3 separate regions of the Homo sapiens genome follow, and all the other regions are linked to region 3. Evidence: promoter capture Hi-C in human tissues and cell types (Jung and others, 2019). All regions are on one chromosome and are shown on one strand. The core of a region is centred on a gene start or on the middle of the fragment in contact, and the rest is flanking DNA. Distances in the headings are between cores, read along the strand shown. Region 1 overlaps GTSE1 (G2 and S-phase expressed 1). Region 2 overlaps PPARA (peroxisome proliferator activated receptor alpha). Region 3 holds the start of PKDREJ (polycystin family receptor for egg jelly).

Region 1 (4,332 bases), core at 834-3,333, 52 kb after region 3:
CGAGCTCAGCTCACTACAACCTCCACCTCCCGGGTTCAAGCAATTCTCCTACCTCAGCCTCCCGAGTAGCTGGGACTACAGGTGCCTGCCACCATGCCCAGCTAGTTTTTATATTTTTAGTAGAGACAAGGTTTCACCATATTGGCCAGGCTGGTCTCAAACTCCTGACCTTGTGATCCTCCGGCCTCAGCCTCCCAAAGTGCTGGGATTACAGGCGTGAGCCACCGTGCCCAGCCAAAAACCCCTTACTTTTGCAGACACAAGTAATAGGTAAATAACGAGATCTTTGCTGATTCTGTTTTTTCACATTTTGCCCCAGTTGGGGCTGAAGAAGACCCTGTTAAAAGCACCCGGCTCTACCAGCAATCTCGCAAGGAAGTCCTCCTCGGGGCCTGTTTGGAGCGGGGCATCCAGTGCGTGCACATCCCCAGCAGTGGGCAAAGGTGAGGCAGCCGGCATCATGCTTGGACCCACATCTGGCCAGGTGAGGCCTGGAGTGCTGCTCAGGCCTTGGAGACTGTTTCTGCAGAACCACTTAGGCTTGGCAGGACGTCCCGGAGGGCGTGCTGTGTGCGGTGGACCAGGCTGTGGACTGAGTTGCTGTACCTGCCCTCAGTGCCTCTGTCCCATGAGGAGGGCACACTCAGATGGGTGGCTTCAGTCTACGGGGTACACATGGCCAGAAAGCATGTATGATACCCCGTGCCTGAGAACATGGACACTGGAATCACCCTCATGTCCATGTCATGAGACACCAGTTTTAAAATAGGACTATTCCAGATAATGTAGGGCATATGGCCCCATAACTCCTGGGTGCCTGTTTAAATCCATGCTCCCACACCTGTTTGAGGTCAAGCCACATTTCAACCTTGCCAAGCCACAGCTGCCATCTAGTGGTAAGGGAAAGCCTTCGCCTTTCTGCTCTTCAGAGCGAAATCCTCTTCGAGGTGCATTGGCCATGTGGCGTCTCGGGGTCGTTCAGGGCAGCATGGTGTGGATTGTGTTCACAAAATGTAAAAAGTGGGCCGGGCGCAGGGGCTCACGCCTGTGATCCCAGCACTTTGGCAGGCCAAGATGGGTGGATCGCTTGACCCCTGGAGTTTGAGACCAGCCTGGCCAACATGGTGAAACCCTGTCTCTACTAAAAACACAAAAACTAGCCGGGCATGGTGGCGGGTGCCTGTAGTCCCAGCTACTCGGGAGACTGGGCCACGAGAATGGCTTGAACGCGGGAGGCAGAGGTTACCATGAGCCGAGATTGCATCACTGCACTCCGTCTCAAAAAAAAAAAAAAAAATGATAAGTGTGAACTCTCTAATCAGATTGATCTGATCTGGAATTCTGACTCTGCCATTCTGTGATTAAGAGAGGTTTGTGTCCTTATCTTTATAGACTGAGGTGATGACCTCCTGAGATCAAGCAATCCTCCCACCTCAGCCTCCTGAGTAGCTGGGACTACAGGCACATGCCACCACACCCGGCTAATTTTTGTGGGTTTTTTTTTTTTGAGATGGAGTCTCACTCTATTGCCAGGTTGGAGTGCAGTGGCGCAATCTTGGCTCACTACAACCTCTGCCTCCCGGGTTCGAGTGATTCTCCTGCCTCAGCCTCCCAAGTAGCTGGGACTACAGGCACCTGCCACCACGCCCGGCTAATTTTTGTATTTTTAGTAGTGACGGGGTTTCACCATGTTGGCTAGGATGGTCTCGATCTCTTGACCTCGTGATCCGCCCGCCTTGGCCTCCCAAAGTGCTAGGATTACAGGCACGAGCCACTGCGCCTGGCCCACATTTTTGTGTTTTTTGTAGAGAGGATGGTCTCACTATATTAGCCAGGCTGGTCTCGAACTCCTGGCCTTGAGTGATCTCTTGCCTTGGCCTCCCAAAGTGTTTGGATTACAGGCGTGAGCCACCACTCCTGGGCTAAAGTTTTTCTTTAAGAATCCTTTACCAGATCGTCTGCGTATATTGGTAGCTCAGTATGTATTACCCTAGTTTATCTGGTCTTCTATTTTAAATAGTGCTTATGGTTAATATGACGCAGCCTCCTTGTAATTTTAAAGGAATCAACCAGTAACAATTGCGTCTTTTTTCCTTGTTCCCTGCCCACCTCTGTGACCAGACAGGTGAGACATGTGACTAGACTATCCCCTTCCATCTGCTCAACTAATGTAGATTTCTCCTGCCAACATAATCAACGAAGATAGGAGAGCTTGAATTTATGCATGCTTATGTACATGTTAGTAATTATTTTGAGAATAAGTACCTTAGAATACACTCAGCTAAGCTAAAAGCTGCCTGAGCCATCCTGTGTTTGATGATGTTGCCTGAAGGGCTTATAGAATATTGTTAATGTGTCTTATGTTTAAGGTAGATATGCTAAAGACAGCATAACTTCTGTGTGTTTGTTAAATAGCTTCATACTTTTATAATAATGTGATTTTTGTGTGTATACCTTCTAGCTAAATCAAGTGAATTTGCAAGTATTCCTGCAAATAGCTCCCGGCCTCTGTCAAACATCAGCAAGTCAGGCAGAATGGGACCCGCCATGCTGCGGCCAGCTCTGCCTGCAGGCCCTGTGGGGGCATCCTCCTGGCAGGCCAAGCGGGTCGATGTTTCTGAGCTGGCAGCGGAGCAGCTCACGGCACCCCCCTCAGCATCCCCCACCCAACCCCAGACTCCGGAAGGTGGCGGCCAGTGGCTGAACTCCAGTTGCGCTTGGTCAGAATCTTCTCAATTGAATAAGACTAGAAGTATCAGACGGCGAGATTCCTGTCTAAATTCCAAGACAAAGGTTATGCCTACTCCTACAAATCAATTTAAAATTCCTAAGTTTTCTATTGGTGAGTAATAGATACATTTTAATGTGTCTTTAAAAAATACTGAAGAAATTGCATTTAAAGTTTTAAACAATTATTGATGGCATTGATGGTGTTTTTAGTTCTTTCCTCCAACAGTGCTTTCAGGTGTGACCCGCTGTCTTCTCGCCCACGTTGTTTTGGGGGGTCACTGGAGGCTCCCTGAATGTCTTACGTTCGTTCCTGTGTGTGTGACACCCCAATGCTCGTAGGCTGCTTGTAAGGTTTTCTCTTTAGTGTTACTGTCGGGAATTTGATTATTATGTGCTTTGAGGTGGCTTTCTTTGCCTTTATCCCGCTGAGGGTTTCTTAAGCTTCTTTGATCTGTGGGTTGGTTTTTTTCAGCAAATTTGGAAAACGTTGGCCATTATTTCTTCAGCTATCTTTTCCTCTTTCCACTTTATTTCCTAGGACTCTAATCACATCTATTTCAGGCCTCTTGACGTTGTCTCACAGGACACCGAAGCTCTGTTCTTTTTTTTATTTCAGCCTTTTTTCTTTTTCTTATCTTTTTTCTTTTCTTTCTTTCTTTTTTTTTGTTTTTTGTTTTTTGAGACGGAGTCTCGCTCTGTCACCCAGGGTGGAATGCAGTGGCGCGATCTCAGCGCACTGTAACCTCCACCTACCGAGTTCAAGCAATTCTCCTGCCTCAGCCTCCCGAGTAGCTGGGATTACAGGTGCCCACCACCACACCCGGCTAATTTTTTTTTTGTATTTTTGGTAGAGACGGGGTTTCGCCATGTTGGCCAGGCTGGTCTGGAACTCCTGACCTCAAGTGACCCACCCATCTCGGCCTCTCAAACTGCTGGGATTATAGGTGTGAGCCACCGTGCCCGGCCCAGCCTTTTTCCTTGAGCTACAGTTTGGGTAGTTTCTGTTGTCAGATATCATTTCTTCTGCAGTGCCTAACAGCTGTGAAGCCCATCCAGTTAACTTTGTTTCTAACATAATAGTTTCCCCTTATTTCTTCTCATGGTACTTGGGTTTTCTTTTACATCCTCGTGAGCAAATTGATAATGGTTTTAGGGTCTACGATTCTTCTCATACCATCTTCCCCATCATTTTGGGGTCTGTTTCGACTGACTAATTTTGTTTCCGGGTTTTGGCCTCATTTTCCTGCCTCTACATTTTTCACAAGTTTTTCTTGGTTGTTGGATATTGTCAGGTGTACACTTTTGAATGTCTGGATTTTGTTGTCTTTCTCTGAGGAGTTGGGTTGGGCTTGGCAGGCAGTTAAGGTGCAGATCATCCTTCCGAGGCTTTTTATGCTTTGAAGTGGTGGGTCTAGCATAGCCTTTCCGCCTCCCGCCACCGGCGTCCTTCCCAAGGCCTCTGCTGCACACCCGTGTGTCCCGCAAGGCCCGCGAGACCCCTGCACTCCTGCTGCTGCAAGATGACACCTTCTCGGCCCTGTGAGCTCCGCTCGTTGCTCCCTGGTAAGACGGCGGTTTCTCGGCCCTGTGAGCTCCGCTCGT
Region 2 (4,346 bases), core at 1,233-3,732, 35 kb before region 3:
AAAAACATAAGATGTTGACCTGTCAGGGGTTGAGAATGTCGTCAGAAGACTTTGGAGGAAGCAACAGAAAATGAGACTGAGGGGCTTGGGCAGAGTCAGTGCCTTCTGTGTGATGCACGCTCATGCACAAATGCACGCACATACCCACACTCACACATCCGTGCACACACGGGTACACACACATACACGTGCACCCACATGCATGCTCACACACATGCACCCACAGTCACACATCCATGCATGCATGTGTACACAAACACACCCACACATACACATGCACCCACACGTGTACACAGATGCACCTCCACCCCCATACATGCACATGGACACACACATGCACCCACACGCACACAAGCATCCATGCTCACATGGGTACACACTCACACATCCATGCATGCACGTGTAAACACACACACCCCCACACATACACGTGCACCCACACATGCACACAGACGCACCTCCACCCCCACACACGCACACACACACATGCACCCACACATGGATACACGCACACTCACACATGTACCCACACCTGTGTGTACACACACACATGCATGCTCACACACATGCACCCAGGCACACACAAATCCACATTCACCCATACAGTCACACACATGCATACACACACATACAAACACATGCATTCACACAGATGCATACACACACACACTTACAAACTACACATGTGCTTATACATGCTCACATGCATGTATATGCACACACATACCCTCACCTTATGCACACATGTACCCACACACGTACCCACACATATACAAGCATGCACACATATATATATATACACATGCTCACACGCATACCCACACTCACATGTGTGCACATATGCTCACACACACGTGCACACACATGCTCACACACACACTTACTGTTGCTCAGGCTTAGCTGCTTTGGGCTTAAGAAGCAAACTGCACCTTCCAAAAAATGAGTGTGGTGTTCAGTTAAACAACCAAATAATTCTTTAGCACTGAATATGTGGACTTTAGAAATTCAAACTATAAGGTGATAATAACGTTGTCCTGCTACTTTTTAATCTAACAAACATATCAGAACTGACACTCAGTTCAAATGAAGAAAGTAGGAATTGGGCGTGCCGTGTTATTTTTTCAAAGATTCTCCTATTGCTCCAAATTGTTGGGGATTATCTTAAAGTCTTTGAATAGCTTCAGTTATGGAAGATTTTACCCTCTGAGAATAGAACTGAATTTTAGACAAACCATGAGTCCATTGTAGCTAGACTGGCATGCAAGTTGGGATTAAACAGAGTAAAACGTCTTGTTTAAAAAAATAAGAAAGGCCGGCTTGGGCAACATAGTGAGACCTCCTCTATGAAAAGTTAGCTGGGCATGGTGGTGTGCGCCTGTGGTTCCAGCCGCTCAGGAGGCCGAGGCAGGAGGATGGAGGTCAAGACTGCAGTGGACTGTGGTTGCGCCACTGTACTCCAGCCTGGGTGACACAGCAAGACCCCGTCTCAAAAAAAGAAAACAGAAAAAAGAAAAAAAAAGTTGAGCAAGGAGACTAATTTGTGACATGCAGCTGAACATGGTTTTTAAGACCAGTTTTGAAAGAGGAATTCCAACATTATTCTTAACATTTCAGAAGCCTGGGCATAAGGGTGACCTCCAGGGTGCCGTGTTATAACAGGACTGCTCCTTTCAACAGCTATGACCTTATACCATGTCTTGGGGTGTTGCCTGCCGTGTGACAGTCCAATATTATACCTACTACTTAAGTTTTCTTTAGATTAAAAAATGTGCTTCATATTTTATGCCATTTCTACAAATGTATAGTAAAACATAACCAAGAGAGCTTATTAAATAATTTCATCCAAAGCAGTTCTACCAGTGCTTCACATTTATTTTTTATTTATTTATTTATTTTTGAGACTGAGTCTCACTCTCTTGCCCAGGCTGGAGTGCAGTGGCGCAATCTCAGCTCACTGCAACCTCCCCCTCCTGGGTTCAAGCGATTCTCCTGCCTCAGCCTCCTAAGTAGCTGGGATTACAGGTGCCAGCCACCACACCCGACTAATTTTTGTATTTTTAGTAGACACGGGCTTTTGCCATGTTGGCCGGGCTGGTCTCGAAATCCTGACCTCAGGTCATCCACCTACCTTGGCCTCCCAAAGTGCTGGCATTGCGGGCATGAGCTACTGCGCCTGGTCCACATTTAATTTTTTGCAAAAAGATGACAGCTGCTAACAGAGATGAATTCTCATGAGTGATATCATTGAGCTTCGTAGGCCACATGAGTGTGTGCCGGGACCAGTGTGGCAGCAAGCGGGGCGTTCTGCTCTCGGCATGGAGTGATTGGGGAAAATCTAGGCAGCTTCCTGCCTCACGCTGTTTAAAACCTTTATAATGTGCTTTATTTCATTTATTTGAAATGACTGCCTGTCGTGTCAGATATATTCATAGTCAAGCTTGAGTATAAAAGGCATATTCCAAAGTTAAATATAAGCTGCTGCATAGATTTTTTTGTAAAATGATCTCACCAAGAATGTTTATCCATAAAGTTTAGCGAATTTGCAAGTGTGTTTTTCAACAGCATTTCTCTTTAGCTTTAATAAACATTGGTTTCTTCATGGTACCACTCATTTTGAATTCAGTGGTCTCCAGTTCTCCCTGCTAAATGAGGCCCACTTTCTAAAACCAAAGTGATAATTTTATAAAAATGAAATGAGATATTTGTTACCACAGAAGTCCTCATTTACGAGAGTACATCCCCATAGAACTAGTCCACGGTGAGCCTCAGGGGCATGCAAGCTGTTTAACGATGCCCCCAGCCTAGAAAGGCCCAGGCTTGGGTGTTCATGCTCCGCTGTTGCCTTCTTGAAATTCATAATCATCTTTGAACAAGGGGTCCCGCAGTGTGTGGTGGCTCACGCCTGTAATCCCAACACTCTGGGAGGCTGAAGCGGGTGGATCACCTGAGGTCGGGAGTTTGAGACCAGCCTGACCAACATGGTGAAACCCCATCTCTACTAAAAATACAGAAATTAACCAGGCGTGGTTGGTGGGTGCCTGTAATCCCAGCTACTCAGGAGGCTGAGGCAGGAGAATCACTCAAACCTGGGAGGTGGAGGTTGCAGTGAGTCGAGATCACGCCACTGCACTCCAGCCTGGGCAACAGAGCGAGACTCCGTCTCAAAAAAGAAAAACCAAGGGGTCCCACATTTGCATTTTTGCTCTGGGTCCTGTAAATTACGTAGCCAGGCCTGCATTTGTCCTGGGAGATGCTCTACCAAAAAACAATAAATAACACCAAGCATTCTGTAATCAAACACTGTAGGAACCCCTGCTTATCCTAGCCTCATTCTCATTCTGGAAGACTGCACATTTATCATGTTAAAGACTCAGCTAGGGAGGCCCAACTTCATTCAACTCAGTGTTTCTTATTTTTTTAAAACAGAACTCATTTTTTAAAAAAATTATTGGCTGGGCGTGGTGGCTCACGCCTGTAATCCCAGCACTTTGGGAGGCTGAGGTGGGCGGATCACGAGGTCAGGAGATCGAGACCATCCTGGCTAACACGGTGAAACCCCGTCTCTACTAAAAATACAAAAAAAAATGAGCTGGGCATGGTGGCGGGCGCCTGTAGTCCCAGCTACTGGGGAGGCTGAGGCAGGAGAATGGCATGAACCCGGGAGGCGGAGCTTGCTGTGAGCCAAGATCACGCCACTGCACTCCAGCCTGGGCAACAGAGCGAGACTCCATCTCAAAAAAAAAAAAAAATTATTTAACACCTTTATTTCTGCTGAATGTACTTTAGAAAGATTGAGTGATTTGAATAAAGTGACGGTGGCCTAAGAGTCTATTTTCTGGAATTGAGGGAATACTGCCATCGATCCTTGAAAAATATTTATTTAGTTCCTCCTAGAGGCCGGGCACAGTGGCTCACGCATGTAATCCTGGCCTGCACTTTGGAAGGCTGAGGTGGACAGATTGCCTGAGCTCAGGAGTTCAAGACCAGCCTGGGTAACAAGGTGAAACCCGTCTCTACTAAAATACAAAAAATTAGCTGGGCGTGGTGATGTGTGCTTGTAATCCCAGCTACTCGGGAGGCTGAGGCAGGAGAATTGCTTGAACTCAGGAGGCGGAGGCAGAGGTTGCAATGAGCTGGGATTGCACCACTGCACTCCAGCCTGGGCAACAGAGCAAGACTCTGTCTCAAAAAAAAAAAAAAATTATCTAGCCCCTCCTAGAAATGTTAATTCCTTAAATCTGAGCTTCAGCTTTCTGTGAAGCAGAATTATCTCCAAACTTTAACAAACAATGGTCAGAACTGTTTTTAAGGTCTTGGAGAGAGATCATTTTCAGTCTTTATTAATC
Region 3 (4,217 bases), core at 1,501-4,000:
GAAATCACAAAACATTGTAGAAATGGGACCATTTGCAGACAGACCAGGAACACTGCTCACATTGAGTGTTGGATAAAAACAATTTCTGCAGTGTTTCTCATTTCTGAAGAGCTGGTTGATACCCCACTTTTCAACTTTCTTGACATACATGTTGAAATTGGGGGTTCTCATTGAGGTGGTTTTGTTCCCTGGCACTTTATTAGCCAGTATTGTGTCTGATAGAGATTCTATTACATAGAAAGGATCTTTAACTACTTGGTGAGGAGAAGTCATTTTAAGAATATTAGACAAACTCATTAGTATTCCAGTACTCACGATTTCTATTTGTTCAGATCGAAAGCGTTTATCTTTTTGCTGATACTCTTGTAGGGCTTGATTTGCTTGCCATACCCTCATGGTGGCACGTTTCTGAGCATCCCAAGTGAATTCAGAGGGTTTCTGGGTTAATTTGGTAATAGTCATGACTACCTGGCCAATTTCTACCAAAGTGCTTACAGGAAGAAGGAAAGACTGATCGATGAGGTGTTTTCGGAGATTGACTCTGTCATCTCGGAGAGGTAATTCAGTTTTCATGTTATTCAAAACGGAAGCTACTATATACAGTAAGTAACCTGCAGGTAAAAAATCCTTCTTTTGAATCAAAGTAGACAGCAATGAACTTGGTCCCACGGTGAAACTGAGTAACTGATTCAACACTGTCTTTGATGAATTTTTGTCAGTGGGAGCCTGTGCGGTGGCATGCAAAGTCACCTGAGAAAAAGCTCCTAGAGAATCATAGACCTGGGCATATATCTTCAAGCCATATTGACTAGCCAACATACCAACAGGGAGAAAGGAAGGGGGTACTGTGGACTGAGGCCCCAAGTACAGGATGGTCCCCAGGGTGTTCTCTTTTACTGAACTGATTTCACCAACACTGTGCAAATCAGAAACAATTATTTTATATGTAAGAGGGACGTGCTTATCCCTAAAATTACTACACTGGACAACAAATTTAGTAATAAGTGCAATTCCTTTAGCTGGATTAATTTTGCATTCTCCGATCTGAGGGCCATGGTTAATAATAAAAGAATGCCTGAAGACCGAGGTCACTCCACTCCAACATGCTAGATACAGAGAAATCGAAAACTCAGCTTCCAAAAAATGCCGAAAAGCAAAAGCTTTTATAGACAGATAAGCACCATTCCTTCCTGTTACAGTTTCCCCCATCCAATCAAATAGCATCTCACCACCTGAAGAAGACAAAATTGACCATTTATAGAAATCACGGCTTGCACAATTTGTGCAATTTAGGAACAAAGAAAATCTATCAGAGACAATGAAGTTTCTCTCACAATTTTCGATACATGTGATGTGTGCTATGGCTTTTGGTCCTTGGAGCACGTGGACCCTCTTATCAGAAAACGCTGTCCTAGAGTCCTTCCGAATCACCATTCTGAAGAAATACACGTGGTCGCCTTTAAGTGTTTCTGGCAAAAGTGTCAGTACAGGGCCCGAGGCCCAGGGCCATTTCAGATTGGCCTGCTCGGGGTGACAGACTTCCTTGCTCCCCAGGATTATTCGATCCCCACCGTAGTTTCTGGGATCTGTGGTACAGTACCAAAAGAACTGGAGTCCCTGTAACGGGCTGTCCGCATCTGGGTCCGAGGACGTGGACCCGTCCAGAATCAGCTGCTCTGTGAAATTAGCTGTTATGTTGGCATCGCCAAGCATCACCGCCTGCAGGGAACTCCTGACGATCCAGACATAGACGGCGTCCGAGTCTTTCACCTCGGGCATCTTGGGGTTCCCTGTGGTGATGGACACCGTGAAATTAAACACATACACTCCCCACTGTAACGAATTATTGGGGATGTGAATGAACAAGGGGCTGTTCCTGATCTCGAGCTGGGGCAGATCCAAGGGCTGCGTCCAGTCGGGCGCCTGACCCACGGCGGGCACGGAGAACACCTGCCAGTACTGGGCGATGGCGCGCGCGGCCGGGCAGTCCAGCTGCACCGAGGCGTTGATGGTGGCCTCCGCCTGCATGCTCAGGCGCACGGGGGCGCCCTTCTGGTCCGTGTTGATCCTCACGCGCTGGATGACGCAGGCGTTTATCTGACAGGACACGGACGACTCGACGGCTCTGTGGCTGGACGAGTTGACGGCCTGCAACATCACGCGCGCGGGGCCGTCTGTGGGGCACTCGGTGCGGGCCACGAAGCCCTGCTGGGGCCGCGGGCCTGGCGCGGCGGAGCGCGGGGAGACGCGGGCCGCGGGGGAGGCCGGGCGGGCGGCGCCGGGTCCGAGCAGCCGCAGGCGGAAGGCCCAGGCCAGGCGCCCGGGCGAGCGCGGCAGCCGCACGGACCACGTCAGGGAGAGGCGGCCGCCGCGCGCGGAGAGCTGCAGGTCGACGAGCGCGAGCGCGGGCGCGGCCGGCCAGGGCAGGCGTTGGGCGCTGAGCAGGACGCGCAAGTCGAGGCAGTACCAGCGCCGCCCGGTCCCGCCATGGGGGAAGCAGAGGCTGCCGCGGCCGCTCAGGACAGCGCCGCCCGCCCGCACCGCGCTGGGCCGCAGACTGAGGAGGGCGCGGCCGCCGCGCACCCCGAGGCCCGGGGCGCCCCTGAGGAGGCCACCGGGCGCCCCGGAGACGGCGGCTTGTGCCCCGCGAGGAACCGGCGGCAGCGGGAGGCGGCCGACGCTCAGGCTCAGGCCCACGCCCAGAAGGAGGAGAGCGGGCCCAGGCCTCATGGCGCCGGCCCAGGAGAAGCTGGGAGAGGCCGCGAGGCGCGCCCAACCGCCACCGGGGTCGCGGGGATAGTGAGGGTCTTGGGGACAGTGGGGGTCTCGGGCGTCGAAGGGCGCTGGCAGAGGGGTCCCAGGGACAGAGTCCCAGAGAGCAGCTGGGACCTCGGAGCTTGGGGTCAGTCGGCACTGGGGACTTCTTGGGTACCTCTTCCCTCTCCGTCCCCAAGTGTGTGCAGGCCCAGGGTCAGGATGGCTCAGGAGGGCAGTTCAGCCCCGTGCAGACCACAGAGCTGACCACGGAGAAGGGGCTTCAGCAGGAACCCTTGGGAAAGCCAGTCACAAAATGGGAGATCAGGAGGGAACCGTGAGATCCCTGGGCGCCCAGGAAGGTCTGACTCTCGGTTTCTTACTTTGGGGTCGCTTTGCTCTTTTCTTTCTAGTTGGTTTGGGGGTTTTGTTTTTTGTTTGTTTGTTTGTTTGTTTGTTTTTTGAGACGGAGTCTCTGTCACCCAGGCTGGAGTGCAATGGCTTGACCTCAAGTGATCCACCCACCTCGGCCTCCCAAAGTGCTGGGATTACAGGCATGAGCCACTGTGCCTGGCCTCATTCTTTAACTCTGTCCATTTTTGCTGTATATTTTGGGACTTGATTGATGGATTGAATGATTTTAGAGACAGGGTCTTGCTCTGTTGCCCAGGCTGGAGTGCAATGGTGCAATCATAGCTGACTGTAACCTTGAACTCCTGGGCTCAAGGAATCCTCCTGCCTCAGCCTCCCATACTACAGGTCTACACCACTACACCTGACTGATTTATTTTTTATTTTTGTAGAGATGGTGTCTTGCTGTGTTTCACAGGCTGGTCTCAAACTCGTGGTCTTAATTGGCCCTCCCCTGTATTAGTCCGTTTTCATGCTGCTGATAAAGACATAACCAAGACTGGGAAGAAAAAGAGGTTTAATTGGACTTACAGTTCCATATGGCTGGGGAGGCCTCAGAATCATGGCAGGAGGCAAAAAGCACTTCTTGCATGGCAGTGGCAAGAGAAAATGAGGAAGACGCAAAAGCGGAAACCCCTGATAAAAGCATCAGATCTCCTGAGACTTATTCACTACCACAGAACAATATGGGGGAAACTGCCCCTGTGATTCAGTTATCTCCCACCCGGTCCCTCCCACAACATGTGGGAATTATGGGACTATAAGATGAGATTTGGGTGGGGACACAGAGCCAAACTATATCATTCCACCCCTGCCAAATCTCATCTCCTCACATTTCAAAACCAATCATGCCTTCCCAACAGTCCTCCAAAGTCTTAACTCATTTCACATTAACTCAAAAGTCCACAGTCCAAAGTCCTGTCTGAGACAAAGGAAGTCGCTTATGCTTATGAGCCTGTAAAATCAAAAGCAACTGGCTGGGCGCAGTGGCTCACCCTGTAATCCCAGCACTTCGGGAGGCTGAAGCGGGCAGATCACCTGAGCTTGGGAGT

Evidence for each region. Contacts are between HindIII fragments. The study calls those that stand out against the background at their distance.
Region 1: a fragment that was not itself captured here is called in contact with the fragment with the promoter of PKDREJ in region 3 in 1 of the 25 tissues and cell types used here (H1 embryonic stem cells).
Region 2: a fragment that was not itself captured here is called in contact with the fragment with the promoter of PKDREJ in region 3 in 4 of the 25 tissues and cell types used here (IMR-90 fibroblasts, bladder, liver and 1 more).

Annotation. Positions count from the first base shown.
Region 1 is chr22:46,313,571-46,317,902 of GRCh38, forward strand. GTSE1 (G2 and S-phase expressed 1) reads left to right here. Exons shown (of 12, transcript NM_016426.7): 6 at 320-443; 7 at 2,462-2,842. Among named protein-coding and RNA genes, the nearest start is that of GTSE1, 19 kb to the left of the region's middle. The HindIII fragment of the contact is 7,099 bases long and covers 1-4,332 here.
Region 2 is chr22:46,225,373-46,229,718 of GRCh38, forward strand. All of the region lies in intron 7 of PPARA (peroxisome proliferator activated receptor alpha), which reads left to right. Among named protein-coding and RNA genes, the nearest start is that of CDPF1, 23 kb to the right of the region's middle. The HindIII fragment of the contact is 6,822 bases long and covers 1-4,346 here.
Region 3 is chr22:46,260,593-46,264,809 of GRCh38, forward strand. PKDREJ (polycystin family receptor for egg jelly) reads right to left here and starts at 2,751. Exons shown (of 1, transcript NM_006071.2): 1 at 1-2,751. The coding sequence starts at 2,730. The HindIII fragment of the contact is 11,288 bases long and covers 1-4,217 here.